Regions from separate parts of the Homo sapiens genome. Here regions 1 and 3 are each linked to region 2. The links are contacts of gene promoters, found by promoter capture Hi-C in human tissues and cell types (Jung and others, 2019). All regions are on one chromosome and are shown on one strand. The core of a region is centred on a gene start or on the middle of the fragment in contact, and the rest is flanking DNA. Distances in the headings are between cores, read along the strand shown.

Region 1 (4,828 bases), core at 598-3,097, 280 kb before region 2:
CACTGCAATGAATGAATTCTTGCTCTGTTCACATGACAGCTGGTTGTTTAAAAGAGACTGGCATTTCCTTTCTCTCTTTTTCCTCCTCTTTCACCCTGTGACATTCCAGCTCCCTTTCCCCTTCTGGCAAGATTGGAAGCTTCCTGAGTACTCACCAGAAGCATACCTGGTGAGGTGGTACCATGCTTCTTGTAAAGCCTGCAGAACCCTGAGCTGAATAAACCTCTTGTCTTTACAAATTACCCAGTCTCAGGTATTCCTTTATAGCAATGCAAACAGACTGAGATAGTAACACGTACATGTTTGAAGGTATGGATATGAGCATAGGAAAAGACTGGAAACATGCTTGCCAAACTCTAACAGGCAGTAATCACTAGCAAGCGGCAGATAGTTACTACCGCTTACATTTATGCCCTTGTAGATTGTTGTGATGATTTTTATGACACACATGCACTAGTTGCACAATTTCAAAAGGTATTAAATAAAACTGGGATCGGTGAGAGTTTTTTATATAAAATAAGCTCATTTTAAAATCACAGTTGCAAGACCTAAATATACAAGAAATATGAGAACTCAGTATATATTCACAGGGAAGAGTTAGAAACAATGCATGGAGATTGCATGGAGGCAAATTTCAAATCAACTTGAGAGATCGGTTGTTCGCCATCCCATGTTTAAATACCCTTGCGGCATTGTTTATATTGGCAAAAACGTTGATGTCAACTCAATGACTTATAAGAGAAAACTGCATAAAGTGTGATATATCTATACAATGTAATAAAGTACAGCTGTGAAAATGAGTGAGCTAGAACTAGCTTTTATCCACATTGATAAATCTCACAAATGTATTGCTGAATAGTAAGAGCAAGTGGCAAAGGAAAACACAACGTGTTATACCATTCATATGAAGTTAGGAAGCATGTAACGCAGTACTATGCATTGCTTATAGATATTTATTGATTTAACAAACTTAGTAATAGATCCATAGGAAGGGTGAATACCAAATTTAAGTAGAGGTTAACCTTTAGGAAAAAAAAAAAAAGTAGGGCCAGAGAGAGATAGACAGGGACTTGAATTATATTAGTTAATACTTTATTTCTTACTATGAGTGGTAGGGACATGGGTACTAATTACATACTGTAGTCCCCCCTTTCACTTTCTGTGGTCTCAGTTACTTGTGGTCAACCATGGTCCAATAATATTAAATGGAAAATTACAGAAATAAACAATTTATAAGATTTACATTGTGTGCTGTTCTGAGTAGCATGATGAAATACGGCACAGACCTGCCTGCGATGTGAATCATCTCTTTGTCCCTGTGCACCCTATATGCTACCTGCCCATTAGTTACTTAGTAGCCATCTAGGTTATCAGCTCAAAAAAACATAGTATTGTATATATAGAGCTCAGTACTATCAATGATTTCAAGTATTCACAGGCAGTCTTGGAACTTATCCCCTACAGACAAGAAAAACTACTGTAATGCTTTTACCTTTCTGTATGTATAAAATATGTCATAATAATATCAATGATAATAAGTTACTTAGCACTTACTATGGGCCAGACACCATGCTAAGGATTTTCTATGTATTATTTCCTCCTCACAAAAGCCCCGCCACAGTGTTGTTAATCTAATTTTACAAATAAGCAAATCAAAGCATAAAGAAGTTAGGTAACAGGACAAAGATTGTATCTAGTACGTAAGGAGCAGAGCTGGGATTTAAGACTAATAGTTTATCTGACATGTAGTAGACAACAATCTGTGTACTATTCTCTTAATCACTTATAGACATACATACATATATATAGATAAATATACGTGTGTATGAAAAGGGTTGTCTTGCAAGATAATATCTTCCTTTTTCATGTAATAGATTATCTGGTCAAGTAATGAGCTCCTCAGCTTTGAAAATGTAGTTAGATGACCAACTCACAGATTACTATGGGTGGCATTACATGGTGGTTTCTGGGAGGTCAGGATACATAAACTGAAATTTCCTTCCAGCTCCAAATCTCTGAATTTTTAATGTCAGGACTAGTTTGTTTGGTGGGCAGGGAAGATGTGGGACAAAGCCTTCTACTTTAGGCATATTGAGTTTGAGGTAAAAGTATGTCTAGCAAACAGAGATGATGAGATTTACTTTGCATTACAGTATGAATCTATTAGCAAAATAGTTCACATATAAGAATAGATGAGGTTATCCAAGACATATGCAGAAAAGAGACCCACGTCTGCTGCGAAGAGGAGGAGAAGACTATTTTTGTCTGTCTTTCTTGCTCTTCACACACGTGCATGTGTGCATACACATTCACATACCCAGATGCATTTTGTTCAAATTAATATCAACAGTTCTCTTTCTCCTTTTCATATATCCGAAAGCAATGCTCACATATGTGTCAATGGATGAAGAAATTACCCCTTTGACATAGGTGTCAACTACTTTGTTTATCCCAGCGTGCCTATCTACCCCTCCAATCTATTTGCATTAAAATCTGAAGAATTAAAACACACACACATACACACACCTTTTCCACTTTTTCTAATTTCACCTGCACTCTAAAAAAATAACTATTTCACAATAGCAAACACCCCACATTTCAGCCTCTATACTTGTCAATTGAGTCAGCATACTGAATGCCAAAATAATAATTTTTAGAGTTAAAAGGTCCTTTGAATGATTTATAAAACTTTTCTCACTATTTGTACTAAGCTTTAAAACCATTTCATTTTTCACAGTGAAACTAATTTTAAGGAAATAGAGAAAAATACCTTTCTAAAATTCTCATTTATTTTTGTATATTCACAGATTAACATGCTAAATAGAAGGAGGAATTTGTCTTTTCCCTGAGCTCGGGCAAGTCTGATCAGCCCATGAGCAAATGAGTATTTCTCAACAAATGGACTGTAATGATTATCTTAAGGTATTAATATCATCATACACAAGTGGAAGTGTTATTTTCAACAGATTCTGTTAGGATTTTACTGTAGTTTTTATTTAGTTAGAAATCAGCTGTTCCATCTTGTCTGGGGTATTGTAAAAGTGGGGTGACTGAAAAAGAGAGCAAATAAAGACTGAGAGAAGGAAAGCTAATATTTATTGAACCTACCAGGTGCTTTACATTATGGCAGGCTGTACACATTTAATCCTCTTGACAATTGTCTTCTTAGTTTTTATTATCCCATTTTTTAGATTGTAACTGAGTTTCAGAGACATTCAGTAAATTATCCCAAAGTCATATAGGATAAAACTTAGGTATGTCTTGGCTCCAAAGTTCACAATTTTTCATTTATACCAGTATGTACAAATACAACATATTAGAGTGTTTATTCAGCAGAGATTAATCAGTCCTTCCACCTGTTACTTAATATCTTCAACTGTGTCTTCAAACGAGTTAAAACTACTATCTAGTTGTTAGTAGAGTTTTAGTATTTGGTTCATACCTAACAGGAAAAAAAGAAATTTGCGGTCACAGCTTTACTAATATTCTTTGCATAAGCTTCCTTGTTAAAATGCTTAATATAATACCTGGAATTGCTGTACTATTCATTTTTCAAAATGCAGATTTACTTTATTATTTAGTAAATATGATTCTAATTTGGTTTTACATAAGTCATTTTCTATTTGTGCCAAATATAATTCCATTTACACCTTTTGCTGATTAATGGTTTGTAAGAATCATACGGAAATCATATTCTTAGTGGTGACCTTATTTAAATGGAAATACAAAAGCCTGTTAGGGACTAAGTCTTATTTCCCGCAATGAGGGGACAGTCCTCATGACCTACTTCCCAAAAGCCCCATCACCTAATACCATCACCTTGGAGGTTCGGATTTCAACATGAATTTGTAAGGAACATAAACTTTCAGATTATAAATACTGTGTGCCAATTTGGACTTGAAAAGACTGACCACTCCTCCTTTTATCCAGGAGCAAGGGAAGCTATTTCCCCAGCTTGCAGAAGTTATGTCTCCTCCCCATGCATTATCTCTCAGAGATATTTCTCTTCTAGATCTCGGTTTCTCCTAGAAAGATCCTATTCATTCAGGACACTTGTCATTTTTCGTGGAAAAACTGACTTTCCCTGTTAGCTGGAAATATTAGTTAAGTCAAATGCAGTGGTAGACAGAGAAGGGAAGAAGCTCTTCCTATCTCTCTTGTTCTTTGTTCACTGTCCAGCTCACCCCTGAAGAATTAGGTCTGGACAAGACATGAACTGGCACCAGAATAAGGGACAGGACAGTCAATGGGCACAACATCAGGCAGCCACAGGGTCTGTAGAAATGAGCACAAAGAATCTCAAATAATCATACAAGAGATATAAAACAGAGAGGAAGGACCATCCACTTATTATTTGGCTCTGTCTCTTTGTCTATAGTATTTATTTGTATTTAAGACCAGAATCAAATCACTAATTCCCCATCAGACTTTTGTTTGTAGCAGTTCTATGACTCTTCCAACTTCATAGTACCTGATGTAGATCACCAGCCACCCTAAATAGATCAATGACTATTTTCTAGCACAGTCTATCTGGTGTCCCTAAAGGCAAATCAGATGTGAAGGGTCTTGAATCTAATGCTAAAGAAATTTATCTTGGCCAGGCACAGTGGCTCACACCTGTAATCCCAGCACTTTCAGAGGCTGAGGCGGGTGGATCACTTGAGGTCAGGAATTTGAGACCAGCCTGGCCAACATGGCAAAACCTTGTCTCTACTAAAAATACAAAAATTAATCAAGCGTGGTGGCAGGCACCTGTAATCCCAGCTACTAAGGAGGCTGAGGGAGGAGAATCGCTTGAACCTGGGAAGCAGAGGTTGCAGTGAGCCAA
Region 2 (4,710 bases), core at 1,010-3,509:
AGCAATAGCTATACGGATTAACTTCAAAAGGAGAAGCTTCAGGGTGGAATTATCCCCAAACTCTGGATAATTTTATGCAAGGACTAATCTAAACCAGATGCCTTTTTATCCTCTGATATACTGCTGTTTAAAGAGGGCATGTGGGCTTTGCTTCGCTAAAGGAGACTAGAACAATAGCACCTTTTAAACCAAGGTAAAATTATTTGTTTTAATCTCATTTATCCACAATAAACCAGGGAATTAAATTTCTAAAACTTTCCTCTAATTCAGTTTTATGGGCTCTTTCCCTATGGTTCAATATAAAAAATGCCATTTAAAATTTTAGGACTCAAAGAATTCCTTCAGTAGCTAGTTATGAAATTCTTTTCCTCCTACACTACCCCAGCAGCTAACATTTCATGCACGTACTTCCTTTGTATTTGAGAATGACCAGATTTGAAAACTGACAAGTAGAAGTGCTATTCAAACAGGAGGATCCCTTTGGAATTTCTAAGCAATAAGAAAATCCTTTCCAAATGGGATGCCTTGAGGTGACTCTATGACAAGAACACAAAAGTTATATGGAGAAATTATTCATTCTTGCAGTCGTATATTCATCCTATTTCATATGAGTGCCAACCAAGTGTGAAGTTTTTACTAGGCTCTGAGGATAAAATGGTGACTTAGCCCCTGTTCTCATGGAGTTTATGGTTGAAGAGGGAAGAGACATTGCATAATTACAAAATCAAATGCATATTTACAAAGTAGGAAAAATATTATGAAGCAAAAGCATAGGGTACCATAAGAATGCATCACAATGGGTTTATCGTAGTTTGTGGGAATCATGTAGCATCTATGGCAGTTCCATTCACTGGGACACTGAACAAGATGACCAGGCTTGAGCAGAAGTATCACGGCTGCATTTTTTTTTGCAATCTAGGTTTGAGACAAGCAAACAGGGAAGCCAAATAAACACTTGAATATATGGATAAATCTGAAGGTATAAATGTAAGATTCTGTAGGTACGAGATCATAAGCTAGAAGTGAAAATGTATTTAGAGGTAAGAGTTAAAAGGAAAAGAGGGCCCGTAACTGATTTTTAAGGAATTCCAGCATCTAAAGATTGGGGGAGAGGAGGCAAAGAAGACTGAAGAGTGGCCTGGGGACAGGGGCAGATCTACCTGGAAATTGATGTAGCTTAACGTTCCGGGTCCTTCTCTTGCCTGGGAGCAACCCTAGCAATGTGTTTACATGGGCATTTATTTTTTGAATTTTTCTAAAGAAAGATTTTTTTTTTTTTTTTGGTTAAAGCAGAGCTCCCAATTGTACAAGCTTCAGAGCCCATACATCCGCCCTTGACTAAGCGGAAGAAGCAAAACCAAGAGTGTGATTGCATGGAATTACAAGAGGGGTGGGGTGGGGAGGACTCTAGGAAGAGAGAGGTCAACAGCTGTGAATGTGTTTGAAAGTCCAAGGAATATGAGAAAAAAGTATTTTTATTCAGAATATTAAAAGAAATTCTTTTAAATGTTCTAAATTGGACTTCTGAGTATCCTTTGGTCCTATAATCTAATATCAGAGGGATATTTTGAAAAAGAGTTTCTTATGCAGAAAAAAATTCGTGGGACTTCCAAATTGAGGATAACAGAAAGAAAATCTTAAGTGGCACAAAATAGAAATGAATATCTGTTCTTCCTGGGGCCATGCAACTCTAATAACTTTTCCATGTTTACTGTTTTTGCTTTTTAATTGGATCATCAGACTAAGAATGCACCCTGATGTGCGAAAAGTTACTTAGAAAGTGAGAGGACTGCCCCCACCCTTCTGATTAAAGCGCTTCTCATAAGCATCCTATGCCATTCAGTAAGCTACCCATGCAGAAAGCATCCACAGGGCAGTGCACATAAGGAAAATCTGAGGAGCTAGAAACAGGCTATCAGTTTCCGCAGGTTGACAAAATCGGCAGATAAAAATACAAGACTGCCATTAAATTTGAATTTCCGATAAACAACGAAGAACTTTTTAGCATAAGTACGTCCCAAATATTGCATGGGATATACTTGTACTAAAATTATTCCTTTTTTTTTTTATTTGAAATTCCCATTTAACAGAGCAGCCTATATTTTATCTGACCACCTCACAAGTCCACTACCCACACCCCAGGTCGAGCGGCCCAGGAGCGAGTTTAAAACCCCGCACAGGCCTGCTCGGCCGCGTCCCCTGATTGGCCAAGGCGCGCCCGCCGCCCCGCCGGTCGCAGGCGTCACGGCAGCCCCAGCAGCCTGGGCCCCGCCACCGCCTCCGCGGCAGCCCCGGTCGGCGCAAGTGCGGCGCGCGCTGGGGGAGGGGGCGCGGCGGAGCGCTAGGCTGGCGTCGGGCCACCGCGGGATTAAGTTTCTCAGTCACGCGTGAGTGTCTGTGCGTTTTGATCCGAAGCTCCTCGCCGGGTCGTTACTTCAGAAGAGAAGACAGTGAGCGTGGGCGAGGCGAGGCATCCAGAGGCCCCGGCGACCCCTGCTCCCCAGTCCTCCGCCCCCTCGCGTCGCGGCCCTGGGCGGGCGCCGCGAGCCGGGTAAGCGGCGCTTGAGCCCCGGCCCAGAGGCCGAGGCGCGCCCCCGCGCCCTGCGCGCGCGCCGGCGGGGAAGGTGCGCGGGCGCCCTGGGCTCGGCGCTTGGGGGTGGGGGTGGGGGCGGGGATGGGGGTGGGGGTGGGGGTGGGGGTAGGGGTGGCGGCGGGCCGTGGGGCGGTGGGGCGGTGCGCTTGCCCCACCCCGCGCGGCCCGGCGCTTCGCGGAAGCCGCTGCTGTGGCTTTTTTAAAAGGATGGGGTCTAGAAGTTTCCTTTGCTACTCGCAAGTCTCCACTCCCCCCAGCCCCGCGGTGGATAATCCTAGACCTTTCAGCACCCCCGCCACCCCTTTCTTTTGCTCTCGCTGACTAAGAGGTTTAAAAGTTTTTCCTTTTCCTTGACCCAGAGGGGCACAGTCTTGGTGTCGGGGGGCTGGGGGTGGGGTGTTAGCCTGGGGGCCCGGAGCGCAGACCAGGCCTCCAGGGCGCGGGAGCCTGTTGCTCTCCCCTGCAGGGGCCGCTCCCGGACGCCCCATCCGCCGTTACGTGGTCCCGGGATGTGCGGGTTGCGGTAGAGAGTGGGCAGCAATGCTCCTGGTCCTGCGTTCTCGCCTTAGCCGCGGGGACCCCGAGGCGAGCCGCTAATTGGTACCGGTGCCCCGTCCCTCACCCCTGGCACCGGCGCCCTTTTAACCGCCGCTCCCGTTGGTGGGAGCACGTTGGTCTTGTCTCTCCCTTAGTCTCCTCACCCCCCGCGCTGATGGGCGTCTTTGTCTGCGATTTGGCAGCCCCAGGATGCCGGATGTTACCAGGGAAGCGATGTTTGGGAGACGCTTTGTGTCTTGCGGAGTTGCGCGTTTGTTGGGTGGTGATGGTGTACATTTTTGTTTGCGTTCTTTGCAGAGGCACAAAGGCTGGGCTATTCTTGCCTGCAGTCACATGGAAATCAAGCGGAGACTGCGGGGGAGGAGAAGTGGCCAGGCGCCGGCGGGAGGTAGAGGCCGCTCCGTAGTCACTGGGGGCGAGTGGGGGCCCCTGGAGACCTCTACTGCGCGGTGCGGCTTTTGAGGTGCTCCGCTTGGGAAGACCCCGGCAATGGGCACTGACTGCCTTTTTGCAGTAGGGGCTGCGGTTGGAGGCTAGTGTTTCCTAGGTATCATCAGATAGATAAGAGGACCATGACTTCACCAGCGTAGAAGGAAAACTTCTCCATGTTCCTTGATGTCATAGAGAAGGAATCTGATAAGTGATCAGACTGCCTCGTCCTGCCTTGTAGACAGTTTGATGTAAACATCCCCTTCGTGTTTCCCTAGAAATTCCTGGTTTAGGTTACCCTTTATAGAATAAATAACACCTTATCTGAAAACTAACGAGGAGGAGGTGATGGTTTCGGGCTTGGGAGTTTTACATGTTGAATTTGGGTATGAGTGATTACAATGAACATCTTGTAATGTTGGAACTATCTAAATTTGTATAATGTATGCCTTAGCACCTGATGGAATTTTGGCAAACAATAGTGTTTTAAAAACCTAGCAAAACTTGGCCAGGCGCAATGGCTCACGCTTGTAATCCCAGCACTTTGGGAGACCGAGGTGGGTGGATCACTTAAGGTCAGGAGTTCAAGACCAGGCTGGCCAACATGGTGAAACCCTGTCTCTACTAAAAATACAAACATTAGCGGAGCGTGATGGCTCGCACCTGTAGTCTCAGATACTAGGGAGGCTGGGGCAGGAGAATCGCTTGAACCCGGGAGGCAGCGGTTGCATTGAGCCGAGATCGCGCCACTGCACTCCGGCCTGGGTGACAGAGCGAGACTCTGACTCAATAAATAAGTAAATAAATAAAAAATAAAAATAAAAGCCTAGCAAAACGTTCCTTGACTTGATCTTCTAATACAATACTAAGCTTTGGATGGAGGCACCTGTACCCTTGTGTGCAATGTAGGCAAAACTAGTTTTGGGTACCCCTTGACTCTCCGTTCTTCTTCCCTATCTCATTTGCCAAAACAAACAAACTAATGAAGATTATTCTCAACATATTACTAATAGATTATGGTGTACCTTATTTCTTACATATGTTCCTTTTTTTTTCCTTTGATCCTTTCTGTGTTTATTCTTTTCACTTACCTTCTCTAGTTCTGGTTTTCTTTGTCCCTTTACCACACT
Region 3 (4,227 bases), core at 1,715-4,214, 300 kb before region 2:
GTATAATATGGCTGGGAATGTAAATTAATGCAGCCATCATGGAAAACAGTATGGAGGTTTCTCAAAAAACTAAAAATAAGACTATCATAATATCCAGCAATCCCACTAGTGGGTATATAACCAAAGGAGACGAAATAAGTCTGTCGAAGAGATATATGCACTCCCATGTTCATTGCAACATTATTCACAATAGCCAAGATATGGAAACAATCTAATGTCCAGCCACAGATGAATGGATAATGAAAATGTGATATATATCTAGATATACCATGGAATACCATTAGACCTAAAAAAAGAAGAAAATCTTGCCATTTGTGACAACATGGATGAAACTTGAGAATGTTATGCTAAGTGAAATAAGCCAGTCATAGACAAATACTACATTATTTCACTTATAGGTGGAATCTAAAATAGCCAAACTCATAGAAAGAGAGCAGAAGAGTGGTTGCCAGGAGAGGTTGATCAAAGGGTGCAAAGTGTCAGTTATGCAAGATGAATACTTTCTCTTGATCTAATGTGCAGTGTGGTGAGTATGGTTAACAAAACCATATAGTATATTGGAAATGTCTTAAGGGGGTATATCTTAATCGTTCTCACCACACAAAAAAAGAAAAAATAATGGAAAATATATACACATACATTCAAACATCATTGTACACCTTAAATATATACAATTTTTTTTTCAATTATACCTAAATAAAGCTGTGGAAAAAAAAAAGATGGAAAAACTCAAATGTATTCCCTTGTTGTGGCAAAAAGACCTAGGAAGATTTGAGAAATCAATTTAGACAAATTAGCCATTTAATTAGTAAGATATGTGAAGATGATGATTACATAGGAAAAAGATGAAACCCCATTTTTTAAAAAAAATAACTGTACAATAACGCATAGAATAGAAGCTTCCTCCCTGTCTACTGACAGCATGTATAGAAGTGGAGAGATAGAAAAGAACTGTCTTATTCTTCTATTCAATCAATATTAAGTATATGGTTAAACGAAAGTTACCAAAATATTATGTATAAAACCAGAAAAAACATTACACTCTTTTTTGTTTGTAATCAATACAAAATAAAATAATTTGGAATTAACATTAGCAGACGCTCAAACCAGACCTAGATAATGCCTATAACATCATCTTACTATAATGAGGAATTTTCACAAACAAAAGAGGATACATTCTGATATGTTATTTCCAGATAAACTGATAATCAGAAAGTCTTTTGGCAGAAAATGTTGGTGTTATTGGTAAAGTCAGATATCAGGAAAATTTTAAGTAGTAATAAGGGGGATGGATAGTATCTACACATTATAATTTATTGAAATGGATAGAACAAAGAGAAGACATCGTATTACAATATTTCTTTCTCTGTGTTCTGCCAGGTCAACTTTGGGGGCAGGCACCTGGTGAATTTGTGTTTGATAGGTGGGATTGCTTTGGGCAAGTGCACGCCGACTGCAACATCCAGATCATTTTCCATCCAGTTCCGCTACACAGTGGGACTTGACGGCTATTGAGGGTCGGGATTATAACTGCGTCTAATTGCTATTACCATCTGCTGTAGAGAAGAAAGAAATGTCTTTCTTCTTTTTGACAAAAGCAGGAAATAAAATGATAAATATATACCAAAAGAAAAACCACTTATCTATCAGACCTCGTAACTGAAGAATCCAACCAGCTGCAAGAGAGTCAATTCAGAAATAAAATTCAAAAAAAGTTGAAGCTTGCTTCTTCAACTTTAGTGCCTAATTCAAGTCAGAGTAATGTCTATCGTGGGGCAGAGCATATGGCTAGGGAGAAGTGAAGGTAGTTGGTGAAGGGGACCACACTGCGTGCCAGCACAGGAAATGACATCTCTAATGCCCATCTTATATTTTGGGACAACTTCATTTAAAATATGGAAACTGAAGCTCAGAGAGCTTACATAGTTTCCCCACACCTATATAGCTGGCAAACAGATTCAAGGAAAATTTGTGAACTGGATGTCTTTTGGGTGGCTGGTCAAGAAGAGTAATTATTTCTTAGCTCAAGCAAATCTTGTAAGAATGTAACTATATATAAAGGGATTTTTAAAACATCCTCTCTGACAGCCAACTATTATAGAATTACCGTAAGAAACAAAAAAAGTATCAGCTTCCTAAACACAGGATTATAATTAACAACAAAAAAGTAAATATGTTCCTAGTTCATTAAATTGCTAATAATTATTACTACATTAATGAGCCCAACCCAAGTTCACCCTTTGCTGAGATGTGGTAACATACACAAATAGTAAGAGAGAAAGAAAAATATATCATTGTTTCCTAGGGTAAATTCAAGATGAAGAAGCAAAATTTTTTTCTGAATTGTGTAATGTATTCACATTAATCTGATGTGCATATTGTGAGTGCCTTACAGAGTGATGAAACTAAGCGTGGCTCTATTAAAAAGAACAGCAACTGAATTTAAATGACTGAATTTCTGTGAAGAAAGAAAAAGAAAGAAATGACTCAAAGGTTCATACAGGAGCCATGGAAAAAAGTCCATTTTCCTTGGTAAGGTGTAAAAACTGTGCATTGAAAGGATATTATCAACGGTCCTGTAAAATGTAATAAAAGGAGCCGTAAATTTTTCCTGAAATATGCAACGTTAAAAAATATGAAGTTAAAAGTTCTGGCAGCTCTGTTGATTTCCTTGAGGGGGAAAAAACAGCTAGGGGGACCTCAAACTGCCTTTTCCTTGAGATTCTGACCACGTGCAAAGTGAAGTTTCACAGGGACCTGGGCAGTGTAGAAAACAGGCTGCAAGGTTGTAAAACACCAGGTACAGCCATGGTGACCTGTTGTTCATCAGGGGCTGAGTTCTGAGTCTGGAATAACGTTCCTGAATATCTCTCCTGTGGTAGGAAAGTCAAGGAAATGTGGCAGATTGATAATAATTCTAACTGCTGGAAATATTTGCTTCACCTTCTACCTATGTTCATCTCATCTGTCCCTGCATTTTCCTATTTCATTTCTTTTTGATTTCCCAAACACGCATGGAGTATCTTGTCAGATATGGTAAAAGACACTGGAAAAATACAAGATAGTCTCTGCTTTCTGGAACCTCACATAGCCTGAGAGGGGCCAAGACACAGGCCTGCCTCTAAAACTTTGCAGGCCCAGGGTAAGACCACATACTATATGTCCAAATATTTCAAATATGTTAACCAAGTTAACAATGTTTAAATTATGTTCTATCTTCCAGCCTTAAACAAACGAACTATGTAATAATCTGGATTACCAGGTTCACATTTCAAAGTACTGGATTCATTAGAGTTCTGCAGAGGAACATGGTGGCATAAGAGAGTGGACCTGAACCCCCATTCTATTCAGGGCTCCATCCTGCAACATGAGGGGCCTCATGCACCAGCAGACGCTCTACTCAGTACTTCCAAGCTCTGTTTACTACCTTCCTTCACACACACTGTAACCCCTGCTCCTCGGCCTCCTCCGGTGGCAGGTCTTGGTGGCATATTCCAGGTGAGAACAGCCCTTGACTCTCAGATGCCCTGCGTTGGGAGAGGGGCATGGCTGGAGAAAGGGCAGTGTTGGGCCCTCTAAGCATTATCAAGCAGTATTGACAAGCTTGGTGTTGAAATTAGAGTAATATGATATAGTTCCTCATAAATATTTTCCGAAGACTCTAGATCAGATTCATTTTCATTAGATTAGTATCTCTTCAACTATCACAAAAAAAGAGAAAAAAAAGAAAAAGAATATATTAGGCATTTCCTATTGCTTGTGTTCTTTGACCGAACAAAAACTATAAAAAATGTTCAGTTTAAGTGGACAAACACTTACACCTGAATTTAAAGAGATACGTGTGCATTGATTGGTTCAACTCATTTTTTGATAAACACATATAATAATCACAATTATCATTTTATGTTTTCTTTAAACTCAAAATTTCAGGATTCCAATTCATAGTTGGAAGCATATCTATGACTCTGAGCCATTTCACCATTTTGTTTTCATATAGTAATCATCACAGACGTTTCTTTAACTTTCTTCAGTTTGTCTTTTCAGATTTATTTCATTTTAACTTTCCCTTTCTGTTTATCATGGCTGTTAATAATTTGTTACTTCAATCATTGTTTAACCAAACCTTTGATCATAGTGTTCATGCTGTCTTCCAGGTACATTAGTCTCCAAATGATACAATCACTCTATTGCTCTTGTTTTGAATTAGCTCTTCTTTCTTTACATTTT

The links. Contacts are between HindIII fragments. The study calls those that stand out against the background at their distance.
Region 1: a contact is called between a fragment that was not itself captured here and the fragment with the promoter of MPDZ in region 2, in 2 of the 25 tissues and cell types used here (dorsolateral prefrontal cortex and hippocampus).
Region 3: a fragment that was not itself captured here is called in contact with the fragment with the promoter of MPDZ in region 2 in 2 of the 25 tissues and cell types used here (dorsolateral prefrontal cortex and hippocampus).

What each region holds. Positions count from the first base shown.
Region 1 is chr9:13,558,343-13,563,170 of GRCh38, reverse strand. No RefSeq gene overlaps it. Among named protein-coding and RNA genes, the nearest start is that of LINC01235, 130 kb to the right of the region's middle. The HindIII fragment of the contact is 4,985 bases long and covers 1-4,339 here.
Region 2 is chr9:13,277,241-13,281,950 of GRCh38, reverse strand. MPDZ (multiple PDZ domain crumbs cell polarity complex component) reads left to right here and starts at 2,259. Exons shown (of 47, transcript NM_001378778.1): 1 at 2,259-2,551. RefSeq lists enhancers at 2,636-3,351, 3,352-4,067, 4,068-4,710. The HindIII fragment of the contact is 5,465 bases long and covers 675-4,710 here.
Region 3 is chr9:13,580,224-13,584,450 of GRCh38, reverse strand. No RefSeq gene overlaps it. Among named protein-coding and RNA genes, the nearest start is that of LINC01235, 150 kb to the right of the region's middle. The HindIII fragment of the contact is 3,308 bases long and covers 1,311-4,227 here.